Linked DNA regions of Homo sapiens: all the other regions are linked to region 3. The links are contacts of gene promoters, found by promoter capture Hi-C in blood cells and fetal thymus (Javierre and others, 2016). All regions are on one chromosome and are shown on one strand. Each heading gives the region's core, a stretch centred on a gene start or on the middle of the fragment in contact. The rest is flanking DNA. Distances are from core to core; before and after follow the strand shown.

The links. The method cuts DNA at HindIII sites, captures the fragments that hold promoters and counts their contacts. A CHiCAGO score of 5 or more calls a contact.
Region 1: a contact is called between the fragment with the promoter of FAM135A here and the fragment with the promoter of EEF1A1 in region 3, in 4 of 17 cell types (naive B cells, total CD8 T cells, fetal thymus and 1 more). The highest score is 8.4, in naive B cells.
Region 2: a contact is called between a fragment that was not itself captured here and the fragment with the promoter of EEF1A1 in region 3, in 1 of 17 cell types (non-activated CD4 T cells). The highest score is 7.1, in non-activated CD4 T cells.

Annotation. Positions count from the first base shown.
Region 1 is chr6:70,411,520-70,414,901 of GRCh38, forward strand. It overlaps FAM135A (family with sequence similarity 135 member A), which reads left to right and starts at 1,989. Exons shown (of 22, transcript NM_001162529.3): 1 at 1,989-2,183. It overlaps FAM135A-AS1 (FAM135A antisense RNA 1), which reads right to left and starts at 2,439. Exons shown (of 2, transcript NR_147708.1): 1 at 2,318-2,439; 2 at 1,309-1,543. RefSeq lists silencers at 1,796-2,015, 2,356-2,505. The HindIII fragment of the contact is 2,225 bases long and covers 1,019-3,243 here.
Region 2 is chr6:69,810,032-69,813,394 of GRCh38, forward strand. No RefSeq gene overlaps it. Among named protein-coding and RNA genes, the nearest start is that of LMBRD1, 15 kb to the left of the region's middle. The HindIII fragment of the contact is 486 bases long and covers 1,813-2,298 here.
Region 3 is chr6:73,519,593-73,522,914 of GRCh38, forward strand. EEF1A1 (eukaryotic translation elongation factor 1 alpha 1) reads right to left here and starts at 1,440. Exons shown (of 8, transcript NM_001402.6): 1 at 1,408-1,440; 2 at 291-464. The coding sequence starts at 434. RefSeq lists enhancers at 1-600, 558-857, 601-1,422, 1,148-1,257, 1,308-1,387 and 1 more and a silencer at 1,968-2,197. The HindIII fragment of the contact is 5,848 bases long and covers 1-3,322 here.

The DNA.
Region 1 (3,382 bases), core at 739-3,238, 3.1 Mb before region 3:
TCAAGCAATCCTTTTCCCTTTACTCCTCCCAACCGCCACCACAAGACATCCCACTTCAACTCTCTGGAATCATTTTCTCCTGGAAGTTTTTCCTGACCCATGACCTCTTCCCAAAGTTGGATTAATGCTTCTTCTGAGCTTCAATAGCTCTCTGTGCATTTATCTCTGCACTATACACATTACATCATAGGGTAATAATGCAAACACTCCACCCAAGTTCTTTTTCATTCATGTTGGTATCTTCCAAGATTAGCACACTGCCTGGCACACAGCAGATGAGTTAACAATGTGATTTGAATAAAAAGAACGTGGAACAGGGAAAGAATCTTGGCACACTGTGTGTTTTAGGGATGCACGGACGTGGAAATGCAAATAATTGGTTGTTTACTATATTTTCCTAAGACATGGCTGGAACTAAAAAAAAAACAGAAAAAGCCTTTCCAATTTTGAGGCTAAAGTTCAAGTCACAAAACAAGCAATAAAAGCCTGTTTAGCAAGGATAGTAAAATGGTATAGGGCTATAAAAGAAGGGACAAATTAGAAATCAGGAAAGCAGGCCATTCATACAAATGCAAATAAATTGGTTCACAGGATAAGAGGACACCCAATCATGTAAAAACTGGTACAAGCCAGGCACGGTGTCTTAGGCCTGTAATCCCAGCACTTTGGAAGGCCAAGGCGGGTGGATCACCTAAGGTCAGGAGTTCGAAACCAGCCTGACCAATATGGTGAGACCACGTCTCTACTAACAATACAAAAAGTAGTCAGGCGTGGTGGTGTGCGCCTGTAGTCCCAGCTACTAGGGAGGCTGAGACAGGAGAATTGCTTGAACTCCGGAGGCAGAGGTTGCAGTGAGCCGAGATCACATTACTGCACTCCCGCCTGGGCGACGGAGCAATGCTCTGTCTCACACACACACTCGAAAAAAAAAAAAACTGGTACAAAGATATATTCAAAACCTGTCCCCTAAATGGCCTACGTTACAAGACCTCACCATTACTTTCAAATGAATGCACAAAGCTTTTCCCTTCTAATTCATTCTTATTGTGGTAAAATATACATAACAGAAAATTTACCATTTTAACCATTTTTAAGTGCACAGTTCAGTAGCATTATGTCCATTCATTGTTGTGCAACCAACACCACTATCCATCCTAGATTCATTTTTAAAACAAGAGTCGCAGCTGAAATTTTCCTTTCATTAACTCAGCTTTAGCAACATACTGAACTTTATGCACCACAAAAGTTTTTGCCAGATAAGGTTCAGAAACAGGGAAGAGTGAAATAAATCAATGATCCTTCGTGGGCTTCTGTTAACGGAATGTATTAGCGAAAGGCTTCACTTCATCAGCCCCCTCCCGCCCTTTTTGGCGTCATAAACCAAGAAACAACCAGATCAGCACCCACATCTCCCAAGATGCAAACACTGGGTCCCGAAAGGCATCTGTCCTGCCCCGGCGCAGATCCCCTGCAGCCTCCTTTCCTACTGCACAAATCGACTAGCGCAGGGACCGGGCTCTCTACCCGGGACTGCACGGAGGAGCTAAAGAGAGAAAAGGAGAAACAACATTGTGAGAAAAACGGCTAAAGTTCTCGAACTCCGTGTTTTTGCCCTCTTCTTGTTCACTACTCTTCAACCACCTCCAAGTTCCATCCCTTAAACCCACAAGCGAGCCCCTTTTCTTGACGCGCGCCTTTTATTGACGCAAACCTCCCGTTCTCGCGGGAACTTGGGAACGGGAGCCTGGTAGGGAGGACAAATCTCTCGAAATCTCAGTTGGCGCTGGAGCTGGAGGGGCAGTTGAAGCTCCTGAAGGGCGGGGCACGGAGCTTGAAGGGGCGGGGCCTAGCCTCAGAGAGGGGAGGGAAGAGGCGGGAGGAGGAGGTGAGAGAGGCCGGGGGCGGGGCCGTGCGGCCGGGGACCTGTTGATCGCAGGTATAGCCGGCTGGCCCGGGCTCCCTCGGGACTGGGGCGACTGCGCATGCTCGCTGGCCGCGCTGGGCCAGTAGCCGAGCCGCGGTGACGAACCGGCTCCGCGGTTGCGGTGTTTGCGGTTGCTGTGATGGCGATGTGAGGGGGCCCGGGGCGGGATGGTGCTGACCCGGGTCGGGCCGTCTTCTTGCAGCTGGACAACGAGCTCCTCCGTTCGACAGGCGGGGGAAGAGGCCGAGCCGGGCGAGAGGTAACCCCCTTACTGTCCCCTCTGGCTCCCCCGGCTCCCGACACCCACGACCCCTCCCTCCGTCCCTCTTGCCCAGGGGCCAGGAAGGAAGCGGCCTCCTCTTCGTCCGCCGTTCGCCCGCCGCGGCCCCTCACCCGACTGCTGGCGGTCGGAGCCTGGCCCCGGCCCCGTTGAAGGTCGGTGGGGACGGCGGTGCGGAGCGCTCTGAGGGAGGCGAGGGGCCGCGGCGCGCTGCTCTCCCGGTGCCCGCGGCCGCCCCTGCCCCTGCGCGCGTCCCTCGACCCGTTCTTCCTGAACCTCGCGCCTAGCGTGTTTGCCCTTCACCCCTGCTCCATCTTCGTCGCTCTGTCCCTCCTTTACCCGCTTTCGTGGTTCTGCTTTTTCATCCCGCGCCTCCCACGTGTCTTTTTGCCCGGGTGGTCCCTCCTTGGGAAGCAGCGTATCTCTGTGCTTCCATCCCTTGCCTGGCTCTTCCCTGTCCGGAGCTCCTTACCCTGGCCGACCAGGTTTCTCACTCTTGTTACCTCCATAATTTCTTCCTTGGTTTTATTTTCCTCTCATCCACCTCCTTTCGGTACTTCCTCCTGGTTCCCTTTTTGTTAGTTGCCGATTGTGTTTTGCTTTAGCATCGCTTTGCATTGGAGTTCATTCCATGCCCCATCTTAGCTTCGGAAACCCTCACTGCCTTCTCTTTCCTCTGGTACCCTGCTTCATCGCTTTCTGTCTAATGGCCCCTATCCTCACGTCCTTTTCCATTCTGCACCCAGTGAGTCTCTAATCTTAATTTTTTCCCCTCCAAAACTCTTCCACCCTCCCCCCCCCATTTGTATAAGTCAAGCCTCTTAACTTCATTCCATTTGTTTTACTTTTTATTAAATCTCTGAAGACTTCTTTGTGACATACCCTTCTAGTCCTTGCTGCTTTCTGCCTAAGCTAGGTATCCACTCAATGTTTCTAGTTCATCTTCCAGTTTAATAACATTTCTTCTTTCTTTACCGGTTGGTGGAAGTATCATCAAAAGAGTGACAGTAGCAACAAATCGGTTACACTTACTGATTAAAGCTTTAATTTTTAAGAATTATGTTTACCTGGCATGCCTGGGAAAGCAACTTGAGTACAGACTAAATGAAACTATAATGGGTTAAGACTTGTTAAAGGTTGACCTACAAACATACACTTAAAATTTGGAAATTTTCTTG
Region 2 (3,363 bases), core at 806-3,305, 3.7 Mb before region 3:
CTCAGGCAGGAGCTGACACTGACAGTCATTGGTAAAATTTCTTCTTTCTGAGGGAAATTGCAATCTGCCATAAGTCCCTTCAATTGATTGACTCTGACCCACGGGATCATTGAGAATAATTTTATTTACAGTTGGCCCTTGAACAACACAGATTTGAACTGTGCAATTCTACTTATGTGCAGATTTTCTCCTGCCTCTACCAACCCTGAGACAGCAAGACCAACCCCTCCTTTCTCTCCTCTTCAGCCCACTCAACATGATGACAGTTAGGATGAAGACCTTTTTGACAATCCATTTTCATTTAATTAATAGTAAATATATTTTCTCTTCCTTATGACTTTATTTTCTTTTTTATTTATTTATTTTTTTGTTTTGAGACAAAGTCTCACTCTGTCACCCAGGCTGGAGTGCAGTGGCACAACCTCGGCTAACTGCAACCTCTGCTTCCCGGGTTCAAGCGATTCTTCTGCCTCAGCCTTCTGAGTAGCTGGGATTACAGGCACCTTCCACTACGCCTGGCTAATTTTTGTATTTTTAATAGAGACGGGGTTTCTCCATGTTGGCCAGCCTGGTCCCGAACTCCTGACCTCAGGTTATCCGCCCACCTCGGCCTCCCAAAGTGCTGGGATTACAGGCATGAGCCACCATGCCCAACCATAATTTTCTTAATAATATTTTCTTTTCTCTAGTTTTCATTATTGGAAGAATGCAATATATAATAAATACAACATGCAAAATATATGTTAATCAACTATTTATGTTATTGGTAAGGATTCCAGTCAATAGAAGGCTATTACTAGTTAAGTTTTTGGAGAGTCAAAAGTTATAGGCAGATTTTCAAGTGCATGGGGATTCAGCATCCCTAACCCCTAACTTATTCAGGGGTCAACTGTACTTAGTCAACTGATTGTAGATATTTATCATGTCTACAAAATACCTTCACGGCAACACATAGCATTTGAATAGTTGATTATTATAGCCAAGCCGAGTTAACATTAGAGATGCTTTTCAGAATTGTAAATTGAGAGATGTGGAGAATGATGATGCCACTAATGAAGACAGGGAACATACGAAGAAGAGAAGATTAAGGGTGAGGAATGACAGAAATAAACTGTATTTCATAGATTCTAAGATGCACTTTTCTCCTTTACATTTTAACATCTCTGATGTTAGGACTCACCTTTAAATTGATGGGATCTTACCACTATAACTGGTATATTTTGTTCTTCATCATTTATAAAATGATGGTGCATCTTACAGTCAATGTCACCTTAGAGTGAAGGAAACAAGGTAGTAGATTTTATTTGGTACCTTGGATTTGAGGTGCCTGAGGAACACGGATAGCTCTAGTTCATAGAATGTATAGGCGGGAAACTCAGCCAAGGGACCTGCCACAGAGGTATGAGTCATCTATACTCAAGTAAAAGCTGAAGCAATGAAAATGCAAAAAATTCCCAGGAAAAATTGGTAGAAGTGAGAATAATAGTCAGCTAAATAGACAACCCTAAAAAAACAGCAAACTTTAAGGAGAGAATAAAAGGAAAAGAGTGGTTAGAACTAATAATCAGAATACATCATATAAACAAAGAGAGAAGATACTTTTTAAAACTAATGAGTAGCTGTCAATACCAAATATAGTGAGAGGACTAGCAAGTGCCCACCGAGTATGGCAACATGAGTGGGGGGGTCATTAACGAATTTTCTAGAATAATTCCACTGGAGTGGATAGGAAGCAGACAAGTTGCACTGGCTTAGAGGAATGAAGGAGAATTAGGAAAACGGAGGTCATGAATGTAAAATATTCTTTCAGGAAGCTTGACTAAAAAGGGGTGGAATAATGAAAAAGTTAAATAGAGAGGATAAGGTCAATGGTGATTTCTGCAGAAGTGACTCAGATTTGAACTCATTTCTAAGAAACGTAGAAAAGGCGTGGGCCACTCTTATGTTACTAAACCAAACAGGGGTCCCATTGCCCAGTGCAGTAAGGCCAAATATTCATACCGAGGTTGCTTTGCAGCAGGAGAAAGGAGGGCCTTTATTAGTAGGGTACCAAGCAAGGATAATTGGGCAGCTGAAATGTAAGACCCAAACTTCCAGATGGCTTGCAAGCAAGGGTGTTTAAAGGCAGAGGTAAATTTCAGGAAAGCAGAAGTTATAGGCAAAACTATAAATCAACACATAGAGGTGATACATTGGTTTGGCCTACAAAGGTGGAAGCAGAGTCAGGTGGGGCAGGGTGCTTCCAGGTCATAACTGGATTTCAAAGATTTTCTGACTTGCAATTGGTTAAAGAAGAGAAGCTTTGTTTAAAAATTTGGGATCAGAAGAAAGAAATATTAAGTCTGGCCTGTGGGCGTGACTTCCTCCATGCCCCTCAGGAAGAAATTTAAAGCAAGAGTTCAGTCCTCAATTACCTCTTATTTGAGGTCTACATGCCAGGGAATCCATTTGGTGGGGGTACCAGCTTCTAAGAAACAACTCAGGGACATATATTCTGATGTTCTCTTTAGTTTCTACAGGGTGAAACCGCCTTTGCAAAATTATAACTGAGGAAATTATGACAGTGACAGAAATCACACCTAACTGATTCCATCTGGCTCCTAATCTTTAAGCTGTCCTTCTTCATTCCTGAGGATAGGCCAAACTAATTTTGAGAAGGAATTCAGTTCATGGCTTGATTCTGAAACAAAATTGATAATAGACCTTTCCTGAAAAGACCCCTTCCTTGCCTGGGTACCAGTCTGCCTTTGCAGGACTAACAAATTAGCTACAAGATTAGAAATTACAGTTTAGGGGCATGCAGCCTCTGGCTCCAAGTTGCTGGGGATAACATCACTATTGCAAACCTAAGATCAGTGCTTGAGATATTTTGCAGAATCTGCACTGGATGGATCAGCAGACACCACCCAGACCAGTAATCTGGCTCAACCAGTTCTACCATCTCACCCAGATGAACAGAAAACAGCAAGAAAAAGTCAACTTCGACCCCCTATGGTTCCATCTCCAACCTGACCAATCAGCACTCCCCACTTCTCAAGCCCCTACCTGCCAAATTATCTTTAAAAACTCTGATCCTCAAATGCTCAAGGATATTTGATTTGAGTAATAATAAAACTCCAGTCTCCTGCACAGATGGCTCTGTGTGACTTAGTCGTTCTGCCTTGCAGTTCCCCTCTCTTCATAAATCGTCTCTGTCTAAGCAGTGGGCAAGGTGAATCCGTTGAGCAGTTACAAGGAAACCAAACATCTCAGAACTCTAATTCCCTTGGCTATAGTTTTAAGCTACTCTTGCCTTCTTGCTTATCAAGTTGCTCATTTACTTCTTAGGGCTAACCAGGTGTCTGGAAGTTCCCTTAAAGGAAT
Region 3 (3,322 bases), core at 190-2,689:
TTGGCAGTTTCCACTTTACAACTCCAAGTCCAAAGTGATTTTAGTCACTTTGGGTTACAGAAGCAACCAAAAATCAAACTTTTATAAGTCGGATCTTAACTATTAACATCCAAATCTACTCACTAGCAATACGATTACAGAAGTCACCAAAAGCAAAATTATTTCATAAGTAAGGTCTTAACTATTAGCATTCAGATCTAAACCACTCACTAGTTCTGGGGAAATCACCTAATGATTCTGCTGGTAAAACTCATTTTAGTTGATCTTTCCCTTTCTGGTATTAAACATACCTCAGCAGCCTCCTTCTCAAATTTTTCAATGGTTCTTTTGTCGATGCCACCGCATTTATAGATCAGATGGCCAGTAGTGGTGGACTTGCCCGAATCTACGTGTCCAATGACGACAATGTTGATATGAGTCTTTTCCTTTCCCATTTTGGCTTTTAGGGGTAGTTTTCACGACACCTGAAATGGAAGAAAAAAACTTTGAACCACTGTCTGAGGCTTGAGAATGAACCAAGATCCAAACTCAAAAAGGGCAAATTCCAAGGAGAATTACATCAAGTGCCAAGCTGGCCTAACTTCAGTCTCCACCCACTCAGTGTGGGGAAACTCCATCGCATAAAACCCCTCCCCCCAACCTAAAGACGACGTACTCCAAAAGCTCGAGAACTAATCGAGGTGCCTGGACGGCGCCCGGTACTCCGTGGAGTCACATGAAGCGACGGCTGAGGACGGAAAGGCCCTTTTCCTTTGTGTGGGTGACTCACCCGCCCGCTCTCCCGAGCGCCGCGTCCTCCATTTTGAGCTCCCTGCAGCAGGGCCGGGAAGCGGCCATCTTTCCGCTCACGCAACTGGTGCCGACCGGGCCAGCCTTGCCGCCCAGGGCGGGGCGATACACGGCGGCGCGAGGCCAGGCACCAGAGCAGGCCGGCCAGCTTGAGACTACCCCCGTCCGATTCTCGGTGGCCGCGCTCGCAGGCCCCGCCTCGCCGAACATGTGCGCTGGGACGCACGGGCCCCGTCGCCGCCCGCGGCCCCAAAAACCGAAATACCAGTGTGCAGATCTTGGCCCGCATTTACAAGACTATCTTGCCAGAAAAAAAGCGTCGCAGCAGGTCATCAAAAATTTTAAATGGCTAGAGACTTATCGAAAGCAGCGAGACAGGCGCGAAGGTGCCACCAGATTCGCACGCGGCGGCCCCAGCGCCCAAGCCAGGCCTCAACTCAAGCACGAGGCGAAGGGGCTCCTTAAGCGCAAGGCCTCGAACTCTCCCACCCACTTCCAACCCGAAGCTCGGGATCAAGAATCACGTACTGCAGCCAGGGGCGTGGAAGTAATTCAAGGCACGCAAGGGCCATAACCCGTAAAGAGGCCAGGCCCGCGGGAACCACACACGGCACTTACCTGTGTTCTGGCGGCAAACCCGTTGCGAAAAAGAACGTTCACGGCGACTACTGCACTTATATACGGTTCTCCCCCACCCTCGGGAAAAAGGCGGAGCCAGTACACGACATCACTTTCCCAGTTTACCCCGCGCCACCTTCTCTAGGCACCGGTTCAATTGCCGACCCCTCCCCCCAACTTCTCGGGGACTGTGGGCGATGTGCGCTCTGCCCACTGACGGGCACCGGAGCCTCACGCATGCTCTTCTCCACCTCAGTGATGACGAGAGCGGGCGGGTGAGGGGGCGGGAACGCAGCGATCTCTGGGTTCTACGTTAGTGGGAGTTTAACGACGGTCCCTGGGATTCCCCAAGGCAGGGGCGAGTCCTTTTGTATGAATTACTCTCAGCTCCGGTCGGGGCGGGTTGGGGGGGGTGGTGACGGGGAGGCCGCCTGGAAGGGACGTGCAGAATCTTCCCTCTACCATTGCTGGCTTAGCTCCAAAGGTTGTATTGAGATTAGGGTGTACCTTCGCCTCTCAATCAGCCTCCCGTCCTCAGCCTTGCCATCTCGCTAGTCCGGGACAAATCCCTAGAGCGTCTTCCTCTGCGGGTCTCAGCCCAGCCCGGGGTTGGCTCCTCCTCCGCCCCGGCTTCCGCGCCCCTCCCGTGTGGCAAGGAGTACCAGGCCCGGGGACCCCGAGGGGCTTGGGGCGAAGGGTCGGGACTGGGGGCCTCCTTAACGGCTCACGGACTTGCGAGAGGTTCGGCTCGATGGCCGTGAAAGCGACGAATCCGCTCCTGTGCTGGCCTCTTGGCTCCTTCCATTCAAAGCCAGCTGCTTTTATGGAAGCCCGTAACACGTCATCTCCCCCTGGTACTCCAGATGTCCAGGCTTTCAGTTTAGAATAGACTCAGTCCTACAGTTAGCTTTAGATCTAATTCTAGTTTTGTTACGCCAAAAAGTTCCTGCGAGTGTGTGTGTGTGCCTCATGGTACTTTTTAAATTAAAAGGTGTACAGTTATTTGATTGCAAACATAAGGAACCTAAAATGCTTTCAGATTTTCCACATGATCTCATGTAGAGGCTAAGATCTACAGCATCAGCAAGTTTATCCACCCAGTTTCCTAACCCCAACACTTGCTATGAAGTCACAGCTTCTCCTATTTAAATAAGTGCCTATTATATTTAAATAAGTGCTGTCGTTTTCTGTCATCCTATCGATTGTAACTGCATTTTAGCATAAATCTAGGGCAAGATTGGATGAGCTTGGCCTTTTTGGATGGCTATCAAGGCAGGCCTTGGGAAATGCTCCTCTGAGGAAAGAAGAACGTTTATTTTTAATGAGCTAATTACTAGATCATTATGTTTCTTCTTCCAGCTGTAGAATATCATTGCCCAGCTTCTCGAACAAACTTATTTATTAACAAGTATTTGAGAACCTACTATGTGGCCAACGCTAAGTACTGTGGAGTTCCTTCTGGAGAGGAAACCACAATCAAATTGGAAGAGGAAAACAAGTTGGGAAGCAGTTGAAGGCAAACGCTATGGTGCTTTCTTGGTTTCTGTATCTTTGTAGTGTAGTTTTTCTAGTCCTTTCAGTTTTCACAGTCCACTTTTTTTTCTTTCTTTCTTTTTTTTTTTTTTTTTTGAGACGGAGTTCTACTCTGTTGCCCAGGCTGGAGTGCAGTGGCGCGATCTCGGCTCACTGCAAGCTCTGCCTCCCGAGTTCAAGCGATTCCTCCTGCCTCAGCCTCCCAAGTAGCTGGGACTACAAGCGCGCCCCACAAATTTTTGTATTTTTAGAAGAGACGGGGGTTTCACCATGTTGGCCAGGCTGGTCTCGAACTGCTGACCTCAAGTGATCCACCCGGCTCGGTCTCCCAAAGTGCTGGGATTACAGGCGTGAGCCACGGTGCCCGGCCACAGTCAAAGTT